Linked DNA regions of Homo sapiens: regions 2, 3, 4 and 5 are each linked to region 1. The links are contacts of gene promoters, found by promoter capture Hi-C in blood cells and fetal thymus (Javierre and others, 2016). All regions are on one chromosome and are shown on one strand. The core of a region is centred on a gene start or on the middle of the fragment in contact, and the rest is flanking DNA. Distances in the headings are between cores, read along the strand shown.

The links. The method cuts DNA at HindIII sites, captures the fragments that hold promoters and counts their contacts. A CHiCAGO score of 5 or more calls a contact.
Region 2: a contact is called between a fragment that was not itself captured here and the fragment with the promoter of NTPCR in region 1, in 4 of 17 cell types (activated CD4 T cells, erythroblasts, megakaryocytes and 1 more). The highest score is 5.4, in activated CD4 T cells.
Region 3: a contact is called between a fragment that was not itself captured here and the fragment with the promoter of NTPCR in region 1, in 3 of 17 cell types (neutrophils, M1 macrophages and M2 macrophages). The highest score is 7.8, in neutrophils.
Region 4: a fragment that was not itself captured here is called in contact with the fragment with the promoter of NTPCR in region 1 in 1 of 17 cell types (neutrophils); the score reaches 5.5 in neutrophils.
Region 5: a fragment that was not itself captured here is called in contact with the fragment with the promoter of NTPCR in region 1 in 2 of 17 cell types (M1 macrophages and M0 macrophages); the score reaches 6.5 in M1 macrophages.

Annotation. Positions count from the first base shown.
Region 1 is chr1:232,949,177-232,951,876 of GRCh38, reverse strand. It overlaps NTPCR (nucleoside-triphosphatase, cancer-related), which reads right to left and starts at 1,266. Exons shown (of 5, transcript NM_032324.3): 1 at 1,133-1,266. The coding sequence starts at 1,166. It overlaps LOC107985361 (a long non-coding RNA gene), which reads left to right and starts at 328. Exons shown (of 2, transcript XR_001738525.2): 1 at 328-549; 2 at 721-2,700. RefSeq lists enhancers at 451-990, 991-1,532, 1,445-1,544. The HindIII fragment of the contact is 8,064 bases long and covers 565-2,700 here.
Region 2 is chr1:232,618,594-232,621,293 of GRCh38, reverse strand. All of the region lies in intron 1 of SIPA1L2 (signal induced proliferation associated 1 like 2), which reads left to right. Among named protein-coding and RNA genes, the nearest start is that of SIPA1L2, 10 kb to the left of the region's middle. The HindIII fragment of the contact is 1,358 bases long and covers 705-2,062 here.
Region 3 is chr1:233,238,387-233,241,086 of GRCh38, reverse strand. All of the region lies in intron 8 of PCNX2 (pecanex 2), which reads left to right. Among named protein-coding and RNA genes, the nearest start is that of PCNX2, 56 kb to the left of the region's middle. The HindIII fragment of the contact is 5,656 bases long and covers 1-2,700 here.
Region 4 is chr1:233,255,889-233,258,588 of GRCh38, reverse strand. It overlaps PCNX2 (pecanex 2), which reads left to right. Exons shown (of 34, transcript NM_014801.4): 5 at 1-561. Among named protein-coding and RNA genes, the nearest start is that of PCNX2, 38 kb to the left of the region's middle. RefSeq lists an enhancer at 1-729. The HindIII fragment of the contact is 3,879 bases long and covers 1-2,700 here.
Region 5 is chr1:232,657,613-232,660,447 of GRCh38, reverse strand. No RefSeq gene overlaps it. Among named protein-coding and RNA genes, the nearest start is that of SIPA1L2, 29 kb to the right of the region's middle. The HindIII fragment of the contact is 2,680 bases long and covers 133-2,812 here.

The sequences.
Region 1 (2,700 bases), core at 17-2,516:
AGGATTGACAAACCAACTTTCAGAAAACAGTTCTTTGCAATACTTAGGAGTGACTTTAGATAGCAGGCATTTCTCAAACCACCCTCCTCCTCCTCACCCCCTGCTCCCCAACTCCCCCATCCAATGCCTGACAAAATCCCAAAGTCTGCAATATTAGCTGTAGCCTTTGCTACTTACAACTAAACATAATCATTAAAATAAAGTGAAAGAGAATTCTAGATCCAGGGTTACAGCCTTTGATATCTGAACCCACACTAAACTTCAAAATTAGATTTGCCTTGCAAAGGAGCTGAAGAAATCACTTTCTCCACTCTTAGCCCATCTATCTTTTTTTAGCCTATCTGATGCAGCCTACCTGTCCTTTTTAGTAATGCTTGATACATGGGTAGCGCCTTGGTTTAAAAGCACCTCCTCCTACACCTCTCATCTGACCTCAACGCTATCCTGCTTCTCAGATGAGAACTCCACAGGCCACAGGGTTGAGGGATCTGACAGACATCAGGAGGGGACAGCGACAGGAACAAGCAAGAGTGTCTGAGAAGGGCTCCTGTAGGTACCAAAGCTTCTCCACCTCTGGCCTCAGCTGTGGAGGGAATTCGTGGGGATGGAGATGGGGATGGGGGTGGGGGGATGAACTTAGATGGGAAAGAAAGGTTACAACTTCAGTTTCGCTGTCCTCCAACTAAAATTTACCATTTTTTTTTTGCACGATCAATGTAGCAAAGACCCACAGTAAGGAAATACCTGTGACTATCAACAGAAATTAGACATCTCCACTTCACATCGCGGTTGCCGCAGATCTCTTGAAATACCATTTGTGCAGACCACAACGTCAACACTACAGTAGGAGTTACCGCTGCCGCTGGCCCCTGCGGTTTCTGCCCTTCATCAAGAAGCCAGTCTAGGACCCCCTCACAAGTGTGTTCTAATCCTTTAGGCCCTGTGTCTTTTAAATCACGTTTTCCGGGAAGGAGTACAAACTCTTCAGACTACCAAGCCCGCCATTTAAATTGGGAACTTCAGAGGCCGGAGCCCTGGAGCCGGAGACCCTCCCCGACAGCACAAGGTCGCCCGCAGCCCGCGCGCCCCCACCCCCTCGACCTCTTGGAGGTGGGGATCCCCTCAGGGTTACCTGGGGGCCCCGTTAGGAACACGTGCCGGGCCATACTGGTGGGCGGGGGTAGGGGTTGCGGTCAGGGGAGCAGTCCAGGTTGGGGTCGCAATTCAGGTCAGGTCCGGACCAGGGTCGCGACTCAGGACCCGCCCACCGCGTGTCGCAGGCCCCGCCCCCAAGCGGTGCTTTGACCGGAAGCACCGCCCTCAAGACCACGCATGCGCCTTCTCCCGAGTCCCCGGTCCGCGCCTGCGCATTCAGCCCTCGGCATTGGCGCCTGTGCCGCGGCAGTTCCTATAGGCGGAGCGGGTTGTACGGTCTCTTAAGTTTCATTCTGGGTTCAGGGCTTTTGTGGGGTATTTGCAGAGATAAGTGCGTGAGAACGTCAGTTATTAAACTATTGCTGCTTCAAGTCAGCGCCATCACCCAAGTTCTGCCCCTTGACTCCGGACCTAGGAGCTGAAATTGCCCAAGGCTGCCGGGACAGCCCTTTTGTAGAAGGTTTGTGACCTGGAAGCATTCCTCAAAGGGGGATGCCATGTTAATGACTCCAACTTTGTTCTCAAACATTCCTGCAGAATAGAATCAGCTGGGGAGTTTTAAACTTGCTCTGATGCCTGGGTTTCACCTGCAGTAATAGGGAGTGTCAGAAGACAAAATTACAAGTTTAGTTTAAAGATCTAATTGGCTTATATTTAGGATCTAGAATCGAGAAATAGATCATTTCATAAAGCAAATAGAGTGTTCCAATGAGTTGTGCAGAGGAGGTTGGCTTTATGGGCAAAAAAAGGCTGAAGAACAAAACAAAGAGTGGGTATTTCAAAGTTACTTTCCTTATAGGGTTAAAACAGATTGGACTTCGTTATTGTACTGACTCAGGTTAACTACAATCTCCTGTTTTTTGGGAAAACGGGCCTGTTTCAAAGTTCAGTTTGGTTACATGGCACTTGGCACAAGTGACTCCATTCTGGTTTGGTCTAGTCTGCTAGGACCTAGTGCAGGAGGTTAGTCCAAAACAATGGCCTCCCATAAATCTTGTTTAACATGAGTAATTGGTCTTGAGCGAGTCTTGAGCACCTGTATTCTTTTTTCTTCTTTCTAAACTCCAGGAAGTTCCTGAAGTGCGCTAGGGTTGAGAACCACTGGTGTAGGCAGGCTTCCCGTCCTCAGCCATGCATAGGACGCCCAGTTTTCCCTCTTTACTTTCACACCAAAGTGTATAAAGATCTCCTCTTGCAAAGAATTAAATAGCTTCTCCGTCTCACTTTACCACTGCAAGTGTTCCGGCCAACGAATGACGTGGCAGTGGCCTTGGGCCACATTTACCTGTAAACTCTTTCAGTCTAACATGTGTACAGCTTAATTTGTAGTCAGTCGTTCCCCATCCTGGCTGAGAAAGCAGTTCAGTGAGTGCTCAACTTAATTGGTTTCTGCCCACACATGGACCTCTTGGTTTCCCTTTAGCCTGAGACATATGCCAGTCCAATGATTATCTAAAAAAACAAAGTTGGATTTGTAAAATATAGCTGTCATCACCATCATTTCTGCAACATTTGTAATGCTCTATTATTATAACAGTATACTAT
Region 2 (2,700 bases), core at 134-2,633, 330 kb after region 1:
TGGAGGCTGAGGGTTGGGCTAATGAGCTCATTGTTCTGGTCTAAAAACTGCCCTGTTCTCTCAGCCAGTGAATTGTCTGTTATTAACTAGAAATTTTGTAATTTGTGGTGAGGTAGCAGTTTTACTGATTGAATCAGGTTATATATTCTTTGTTGGGAAGTGAGTGGGTCCTTCTGTGATCATGCAGAGAACATTTTTTTTAGCCCGAGTCTTTGCCAAGATTAAAAGAAATATAAGAGGAAAACAATTTTTGTTTTGCATTTATATTTTGCTAGATTTGCATAATCTTTGTTTAAGCCAGTTGAATGTGAATCCCTAAATACATTTCAGGCATTTAAATATTTAAAAGGATTCATCCACAGTACTTTACTCACCCAAAGAATAAGTGCTTACAACAAAGAAAATAACACCCTTGCAGATGTAGCCTATGTAGACTTTGTTCACCTTGTCATTGAATTATACAACATTAATAGAGAAGCTAGAATTTGAACATTCACTGAAATGCTTAGCTGGCTCTGTTCCAAAATATTGTTTCCCTGGTAGAGAAAGCAGGACAATTTGTTTAAAACTGGCAGTTTGCCAGTCAGAATAGCTCTGACGCAATCATTGCAGTAACTACTTTGCTCTGACTGCTAATTTTAGGGCAGTTAAATCTGGGTGATGTCTGATGGCTGCTGTCGCTGTGCGTCTGGTTATGTGAAGCTTTCTAAATTCATCCTCTTAGCTTGGCACCGTAACTTAGTTCTTTCTGAGATAAGCTGTGGAGCAGAGGGGATGTTGAGTCGGCACAGGATATGTGCATGGAATGAGGAACAAGGCCCTAGGAGAGTTTCAAGAGACACTGCTTTCATCTTACTACGCTCTTTGTTATTCCAATAGCAAAGGCTTAGCACATCTGTACTTCCCTTGCTGTAGCACCCTGGGAGGTGTTGAGGAAGGTGGAGAGAAGTGTACATCGAGACACCTACCTTCATGGAACAGGGTTCTGGCAATATGCACTTGCTTTCCTTGTCATCCCTGCAAGCATTAGTGTGTTTAAAAGTGAACTTTTATCTTCTTCCTTTTTGGAACAGGTAAAACTACGGAGAAAAATGGTAATTTAAAAAAATCTGGCCGGGCGTGGTGGCTCATGCCCATAATCCCAGCACTTTGGGAGGCTGAGGCGGGCGGATCATGAGTTCAGGAGTTCAAGACCAGCCTGACCAACATGGTGAAACCCCGTCTCTACTAAAAATACAAAAATTAGCCAGGCTTGGCAGCGCGTGCCTGTAATCCCAGCTACTCAGGAGGCTGAGGCGGGAGAAACGCTTGAACTCGGGAGGCGGAGGTTGCAGTGAGCTGAGATCGCGCCACTGCACTCCAGCCTGGTGAGAGAGCAAGACTCCATCTTAAAAAAAAAATCTATTTGGAGCATTTAAGAGCAGAGTAGAATATCCTGCTATTGCAGATGATACAAGTGGGATAAGGGGTTCTTCCATGGCCTTGTCTAACTCCCTCAGCTTTCTGGGGCAGTGACTATAATCCAATTTTAAAATAAGGATGTGGGACCATGCCATCTTGAAGTCTTTTTAAATGCTGGCATTCTAAGATTTCCAAGTTAACAGGGGCACCCTAGGGTGTGAGACCCCTGAGGACAGGGATCTTGTCCTTCCATCCCTTCCATCCCGTCCTGGGTAGCTGTCAGGCAGAGTCAGCAAATTAACTGACTCTTAGAATTTAGTCCTCGGAGGGACTTTGAGTGTTCTTCTAGTTAAACTTCCTGATGTTACTGATTCAGAACTATCAGAGGGCATGATTTAATCACTAGAGCTATTGTGTAGTAGCATGGGCTACCTTATTAGGTGATGAATGCACTGCCTTCTTAGGTGATGAACTAACTAACTTGGGCAGAGTTGATGGCTATGTGTCAGGTGTATTAGAAAAAGATTCCTGTGTAAATGAGACCATATGATAGATGGGCGCTACAGCTTCTTTCAGATGAAAGACTGTGTGGTTAGCTGAGAATAAGGTGGGTTTGCATGGTTAGGAAAACATTCAAGGAAGATAGAACTTGAGTTAAGCTTTGGAAAATGGTTAGGATTTGAGTTTTTGTTGAGGGCCTCTTGTGTGCAGGGAAACTGTAGGCCCTCTCCAAGACCAGAAGATACATACAGAACACTCTCAGTTGTTCCTTTGATCACAGTACTATCTCTATTAAAATGATCTGCTTAAATACAAACTCATCTTTTTGCCTGGTTTAGGTTTTGCAACTCCAGAGATGCATTTTATTAACAAAAGCAACATTAAGGAGAAGTGACGGACAGTATTTTCAAAGTGGTGATAATTACTTTGTCTATCACGTAAGATGGTCATTATGTTTTTTTTCCTCACTGTAATTTACTGAAGGTTATAGACTGTGTCATAAAACTAAAGGAAAAATTACTTTGGATATACAGAGATATAAATGACGTTTTGGTATAAAATTACTGAATTCATTTCAGTTAGTTGACAGAATATACACATAGTATTATATTTGCAACTCAAGGTCATGTGTTTTGTTTTGAGACTTTATACTTAGGAATATATAACTTGATAATTGATACACTGAAGTGATTTATTTTAAAATTATGCGGAGTAACAAGAGTTTTTTTTTTTTTTTTTGAGATGGAGTCTCACTCTGTCCCTCAGGCTGGAGTGCACTGGTGCAATCTTGGCTCACTG
Region 3 (2,700 bases), core at 9-2,508, 290 kb before region 1:
GTTGAACATGTTGCTGGGACTTTCATTTCTGTGTCCCTCTATGCGCCTTGTGCCCATGTCCCTGGAGGAAGCCTGAAAAACAAGGAAAGAGGCAGAAAAAGGGAGGCCCTCTCTCTGAGAGTGATAGGCTATCGTCTTTAAACTCTGGGGAAGATGAAGAATTTCAAGAAATGTTTTTCCAATATCAGTGAGACAGTGTAGAAGAAGCACATGTATTTTGACTGTCTGTTGCTTGTAGAAGCTCAGATGGTGGAAACCTGGTGAGTCCAGTATGGTGGAATATCGTCATGGTCAATTTGAGGCCCAACTCCTTCCATACAGAAGTGCACTCTTCTGGCCCAGACTAGATCCTAGCCCCAGGCCCGTCTTTATTACCTTCTAGTGGCAGCACTTTTAGAAATTTCCACCATTAATCACTATTTCTGCTATTGCTTGGAGCTCAATCTAGCTTAAATAAACTTATCTCTGCTATAGCCCTGAACCAAACTAGTTTACCAAAGATTCACCAGAGAACGGGATAATTGAGACCAGATGTGCTAAGTATCGTGTACTGTAGTTCACAGAATAGTTACTACAGGCTTGGGATATTTCCATTTCCATTATTGTTTTGGAGGAAGAGAAAATGTCTCTTGAAACTTAACGCTTTCACTTTATATGTATTAATGTGGGAAACGCTTTGGCTTTAAGTTACTAAGATACTGTCTTTTTAGATGATTATGCTGCTCACAGTCTATAACTTAAAAAAAATGAGAGAGAATAAGCAGCAAATACTTGGAGAAGAGACGCTAGCAAAGAACATAGACTTTGGAATTATTCAAAGATTGCGCTCCTGTCCACCTGTCCGTTTCAGTGATTTTTGTGGACATCATCGTCTCTTTGGTACTTGGGTGGGCAAGCTGGATTATAACTACACTATCAGGACACCAGAGAATTATATCACATAAGGGAAACGTCTCCATTTGAGCAATGCTTACTGTAAGCATGTAACCATTTCCTCCTGGCCAAATGGAGAGCCCATATACACATGACAATACAGATGACAATACAGGTTTCTGATGCAGACATATACCAGTCATTAAGCTCAGAAGAGAATCTTTCTTATATGCCCATGCCTTGTCTGGAATACTCAACCCTCATAAAAGAGGTTAATTAAGAGGGAAGTTAATATGCTGTTTGAGACTGTCTTTATAAAATAAGGAGGATTAGGTGTGATTTGAGGGCAAGATACTCTTCCCCCATGCCTGCTAACAGAGACACCTGAAATTAATATACCATTTGCATAAAAGCATAGGAGTTATGTTGCTATTTAATATAAGAAAAAGCAAAGTCAATCCTATATCAACAAAAGGAAGTAAAAAGGGCCAGGGATGGTTATGAAGTACATAATATATGAAAGGCAGTGTTCACTGCTTTACATACATAGTCTGGTTTAGTTTTCACAATGATACCTACGAGGAAAATATCTTCCTGATTTAATAGGGAGGATTTAAGGTAGGAAGACAACATGCTTATAGTCACAGATAGTGAGTAGTATACTTTAACCTAGTTCTGTTTAATTCTAGAACTGACCCAAAAGATCTTAAATAGAAAATCAACCCATAGATTTTTTAAAGGATATTTAAATGGCTTATATAGGAAAATGATGTTTATTATTATTATTATTTTACAATCTGAAATGTACTAAGAAATATGGAAAAATTAAGCTGATATGTATTGATTGACACTTCCTTTGTATCATGTTTCCTAGCAGGACACCTTAGTAGGAGGAAGACTGCTCTAAAACAGCCATTCGTTACACATTATGTCGTAGTCAATTCTTAGTTTATTTCAGTTGGCGATAGAGGGTGCTGTACACCTTCTACTTTTTTGCACAGAAGCGTACATTTCTTTTCCCACTCTTGCCTATTTATGATCATTACCTACCTTACCTACAATGTAGTTAGCTTAATCTTTTGTTTGTAGTGAAGTTCTGGCATGTGCTCCGTTTAAGATATCTCTGAATTTGTGTCAACATTGCAATTTCAGTTCTGTTGTATTTCGATGTGAAATGACAGAGTTACATTACTCAGTGGCTTCCGTACAACGCAGAAGAGTTTGAATGAACATTGTTTTTATAAATCTAACTAATCTTTTTCTCTGTTAACGACAGAGATTATGCCACTAATATAGACAAGAAGGAAAAGCATTATTTTAGGAGCAAACATTAAATAATGGAAGCACAGGATTTTTAAGTTTTCAAACTCTACGTACTTACTCTACCTGGTTCACGTCCTAAACCCTGACTTCATCATGTTATGTTTCCTAAGCGGTTCTTTATATGAAGACTTTATTGAATGTATTGAAGTTTATGTTTATTTACATGTGTGTATGAAAGTTGCTTTTTTTTTTTTTTTGAGACAGGATCTTACTCTGTTCACATAGGCTGTAGTGCAGTGGCATGATGATGGCTTACTGCAGCCTAGACCTCCCAGGCTCAAGTGGTCCTCCCACCTCAGCCTCCCAAGTAGCTGGGACTACAGGCATGTGCCACCATGCCCAGCTAATTTTTTTTCTATTTTTGTAGCGCTTAGGTCTCACTGTGTTGCCAGGGCTGGTCTTGAACTCCTGGGCTCAAGCAGTCCTCCTGCCTCCCCCTCTCAAAGTGTTGGGATTACAGGCATCAGCTACTGCGCCCAGCTGTATGACAGTATTTTAAACACC
Region 4 (2,700 bases), core at 7-2,506, 310 kb before region 1:
AGATCTCAATTCCTGTAATCACCCTGGACCTGCCTGAGGGTGGGGGAGGAGGTGTTCCCTGTCCCGAAGGCAATGGAAGTGAAAGGACTCCAGAGAGACTGAAGACGAGGGTATCCACCAATCAGTGTTCTGGCTACGGATCTGGGGAGGGGGGAAATGCCATCAAGGATCACAGTTCTTCATCACGGGAACCCTGGGAATCGGTGTCCCGGCTTACACCTGATACAGGCTCCGAGTCTAAGGTGGGGAAGGAAGGCCAGACTAACCTTGACCCATCGTCTTGTAAGTCCAGCCATGAAAAGAGGCATGCCCGGGTGCTCAGTGTGGACAGTGGGACAGATGTCTTCTTGAGTAAAAGTTCTGCAGAAATTGTTAACGATACAGAGAAAACAATGCCAACTTCCAAATCTGACCTAGAGGCTAAGGAAGGACAAATGCCAAATGAGTCCAACTTCCTGGAATTTGTCTCCCTGTTAGAATCCATTAATACTTCCAAGATGACGGCATCCAGTCAACTGAATGGCTCAGCTGAGCAGAATGAAGAAAGTGGGCTTCTCCGAGGTGCGATTCCATGTCATTTCCGTTCTGATGATGACATAGAAGGCAATACACCTTTTTGCCATTTGCCTTGTGTAATTTGATTTTGCAAATAGTGAGACAACTCTTGGGCAATCGTTTGTTGCTTGGCTTTCTCATCAATATTTGCTGAATGTACCGATACTAAGCTCTGTGATGAACATGTATACATATATTGTCCTACTCTACCAGGACACTTAAGGCATTGTCATAATTTTTTTGCTTCCCTATAGAAGGCAAGACTATTTACTCCCAGAGAAATAAGCAATTATATTTTACTACTGTGGCAAGTACTCGCAATAGATATTTCTTACTTTATGGAATAGATGCCTTCTGGGAAAGTTGATTCTAAGACAAATTTCTGTGAAGTGAATCTACTTTTCCTGCTGAGTTCTATTATAAAATACAGAATCCGCTAATTATCCCATGTTGTACACATAATAATAACAAACACTTCTGCCGCTCTTAATTTATGCCAGGCAGTGTTCTAAGCACTTTGCATGTATTAACGAGGGTGACTGTACCTTGTGGTTTGCCTGGAAGGGTTCTCATTTACACATGTTTTGCCAACATAATTATTAAGAGCACTGACTTTGTCTCTCAAAAGAGTCCCCAGTTTAGATGATAAATTATACAGTTACTCTCATATTAACTCACTTACTCCTTATATAACTTTACGTTATGGATATACCATCATCCTTCCTGTTCTTCGGATGAGTCTCAGAAATTTTCACTTGCTTTCCCAAGTATCTAGTAAGTTCAGGAGGTGCTGGAACTGAGATTTGATTCCAGGCAGTCTTGTTCCACAGTCCTTGCTCATAAAAATTAAATGATATTTCCTATATGAAGATAAGGTACATTTATTTTCAGGTTACTTAATGTCTCTGGGCCTCAGTTTCCTCATGGATAAAATGATGTTACTGGACTAGAGCTTTTATAAGGTCTTTTAGCTTTAAATTCTGTTACTGCTGTGATTTCTGAGCATATCATTTCTACATAGATCTGTATTGAGATAGCATCTGTATGGTAGGAATGCTGACTGAAAGTTGTGTTTGCATATGGTAGCTCATTTTCTGTGCTGTAGGTAGTAACGTTTCTTAGTGCTGGGATTTTTCCTCTGCTTTCTGGACAGCCAGGAGCTCCTCTGGCTCCATACTGGTTGCTCTGAGCAATTTTTTCTGATTCAGTTAAACTTTTTAACAGACAGGGCGGTATATAAAGCAGGAGTAACCTGAGATAAAAACTTTTGTATTTAAAGATTTGGGTGTTTATCATCTATCTAATATAAAGATTCATACCTCTAGGCTAGCACTGTCCAATAAAATTTTCTGCAGTGATAGAAATATTCCATATCTGCAGTCCAATATGGTAGCCAGTGGCCACAGGTAGCTATTTAATACTTTAAAAGGGGGTTGTGTAGATGAGAACTGGCATTTTTAATTTCATTAGATTTTAATTCATTTAAGTAGCCATGTGGCTATTGGCTACTGTATTAGCCAGTGATAACCCAGAGCGCATGAAGGCCTTCCCAGAAGCAGTGTGTCCAGTGGATAGAGCACTGACTTTGGAATCAGATAGCCCAAGGCCAGATTTTGGTTCAGTAATACCAGCTGGTTGAGCTTGGACAATTGATCAAATCCATCTGTGTTGGAGTTTCTTCTACAGAGCAGGAATCATAATATGTTGTAGATTTATTGTGAGGATTCAATTAGGAAAATATGTGAAAAATTTTGCTATTTGATCAATTTTAGTCTTTTATTTTTGTTTTCCCCTCAGGCTGTATGTAAAGTTTATTTGGTTTGCCTACTTGAGTTTTTGCTCTTCTTAATTTTTTCAGCCAGCCACATTCAATCAGAAGGGTTAAACTGGAAATTGAGGTTGTGTGCAGGGAGATATGAGGTATTCTATGGGAAGAGATAGGCTTAGTTATCAAGAACTTGAAGGTACAGCAGGAAGGGAGGAGTTGGAATAAATTACATGCTTCTTTTAGGAAAGGACAGAGGATTTTAATTGAAGAAAGAGACAGTGAATCTTTTAGCTCGTAGAAGGCCATCAACGTCAAAGGTGGCAAATTAGATGGTTTTTCAGTGATGCCATGTATCTTTGAGACTGGTAATATCCTTA
Region 5 (2,835 bases), core at 223-2,722, 290 kb after region 1:
TCAAGATGAAAAAACTGTGATTTTTGTGTCCATTTTGAGAAAGTCAATGGGCCTGGAGGAAATAAATTGCAGTAGTGGAGGAAAGTGCCTCTCTAGATATATTGATGATTTTAGTGTGAGTTGCAAAAAGCTTTTTTGAAGGATAAAATACATAAGTACTACAGAGAAGGTGCCAAAGTTGGGTGAAACAAGGTTTTTGTACACCTTCCCCTTCAGTGTTTTAAAGCATGAGGTGAAGAAATTAGATCCGAGTGGGAAATCTTATGTTATTTAATACTTCTCTTCGAATAAGCTGGTATGTTACCTCTGCTATTATTATTGTCAAGTTGATTGAAAACCTGTAAAAGGCATCAGTCAGGCTGTGGAAGTCTGAAAACCTGTAACAGGCATCAGTTCAGCTGTGGAAGGCTGAAAACTTGTAACAGGCATCAGTTTGGCTGTGGAAGGCTGACTTACCAAAACAGCAGCTGATTCACAACGTTTCCTGTTTTACCTAAAGTCATTTTGCTTCCTTTAATTCAGAACATGTGGCTTTTGCTGAATTAATACATCAAATTTATTTCATCTGTTAACAAGACTATAGTAGTTAATGGTGGGCAGAGGGTAGGGAAAGGATACATTTCCCCTATTGCTATCATAAAGGACTGTAGTTACCAGCTTGTTGCTGAAAGGTTCTAAGGAGAGAGGTCTGTGTTTACCCAAGTCACTATCTTTTCTTTGTGAAAATGTGTAAATGGTCAGCTCAAAGCAAAAATCTCCCAGCCCTTAAGAGTCAGCGTTGAATCTGCTCTATTCAGTGAAGATTAACTATTTGCTTATATCCCAGAAAAACTCATTTTGAAATTGCCTTAAAGAGGATAAAAATCCTGGTTAGCCACCAACGCAGCTTTATGAAATACAAACCTGGTCAGGCCAATCAAGTCCTTTTCTTTGATGAAAATAAGCCAGGGAGAACCCCAGAAAATCACTGGTATCTTAGCTTCACAGAGACTTTTATTCTGGTCTATGTATCATACGAAAATACTAGGGCTACACGAGCTAACTTAGCTCATAGTTATTATATGACCATACACATGGTGGGGAATTCATGTGCAAGAGAGGACTTTTAAAAATAGCAATACCAACTTAAAATTTCATGGCAATCATTGCTCACAGGATATTGGTTCTAGACCCAGCACTGCATAACCCCTGGATGGTGGAATGAGAGTATCCTTCATTGGTTTCGCAGTTAACACTAAGATATGTGGGGCAGAGATCTTGAAATATAGGACTATAGGAATTTATTGTGTTTTCAATAAACCGGCAACTTGAACTAAGAAAAGTACATCAAGGGCAGAGAAAATGCATAAATACAAGACAAAACAATTCTATATACATAAATGGCAGGAAAAGATTGAGGGGCTACAGTAGATAAGGAGCTGATGTCCTATCAGTAGGATAAAAAGGCTGAGTGCATCCCAAGTAGGAACCATAAAGTACTGCATCAGAACGGGACCTGAATCCATACTAACAGAATTCTGAGTCCCAGAAAAAAATGAGCTAGAGTAATTGGAGAGAGTGTACAGCATACCTCCAAACACAGTTTTAAGGAACAGTTAAAGTTTTGGCAGTATTCCGTTTCTAAAAGAAATGGCTGAGAAGTGATACTACAGGCTTCGTGAAAACAAAAGCCATTAATTATATGGTAAATTTTCCATCTTCACTGAGATGCAAAGAAAGCCACAGGGACTGAAGCTATAATATAAGAATTTATGTATTGTGCCTTTGGAATGTTATCAAACACTTTCCATTTTAGTTCCTTCTCTGAACTTGTTTAATTCAGTCCAGGAAAACTGAGATGTGATCCTGCCGAGAGCTAGAGTGGTCAAGATGATTTTCCCTGGTCCTTTCTAGATCAACGTTTGCATACCATTTTCATAGGCCTTAGGACCTTTAATTCTCAAGATATCTCCACTGTGTAGGAATTATTAGTCCCTGGTTACAGATGTGTATGCCAAATCTCAGAGAGATGAAATTTCCCCTCTGACCTTGAACTCAGATTTACCAACTGCAATTCTCATGCATTTTCAATGATGTCTTGCTGCCTACAGTTACAAGAAAATAAATGTGTCTCTTTCTCTTGTTATAAATCCTTGCAAAGAAGAGATGAACTGTGATGTGTTTCGTAAGAGAAATTGTCCCCCTAGGCTTCTTTCTCTAAGGCAGAGATCAAGATAGCATAAGCAAGTGTGCAGCCCTCAGGTTTAGGGGAAGGGCTGGTGGATGAGAGGCTTTGGAAAATTATCTAGTTCATTTTCTTCTTCTTTTCTTCAGCACAGTCTACTTCTGGATCAATCATATTATCTATTTATGGAGGACATTTAGGTGTGAGATACATAGTACCTATATCTTCCTGAAGGCTGTCTTCAGCTTCTCAATTTGGGCTGCTGTGTGTGTGTGTGTTTTTTTCCTTCATGTCTAAAGTTTAAGAGCTCAGATTTTGTCTTACTGTGTAGCATAAAGATGCTGAGTCTGATACCAACTGCCTCCATGTCACATGGCCAAGCAAATGTCACCATGATTTGTTCACTTGGAATTGATCTGAAGATATTGCAATAGGTCTTTTAAAATTGTTTCCATAATTATTTTTATGTAGAATTCAAAGTTGTCTGTTATCTATTGTGAGGAAAAATCAGTTAAAAAGAAGGATTTCATTTTTGGCAGGGAAAGCAATACAACTGGAAGTGCAATTTCATCACATTCCTGGAGAGATTATATGGTGGCCATTTCCCAATCAGCAATACAGAGGGGAATTTATTTTCTATTCAAAGCTTTCCTTTCTAATGCATATATTAC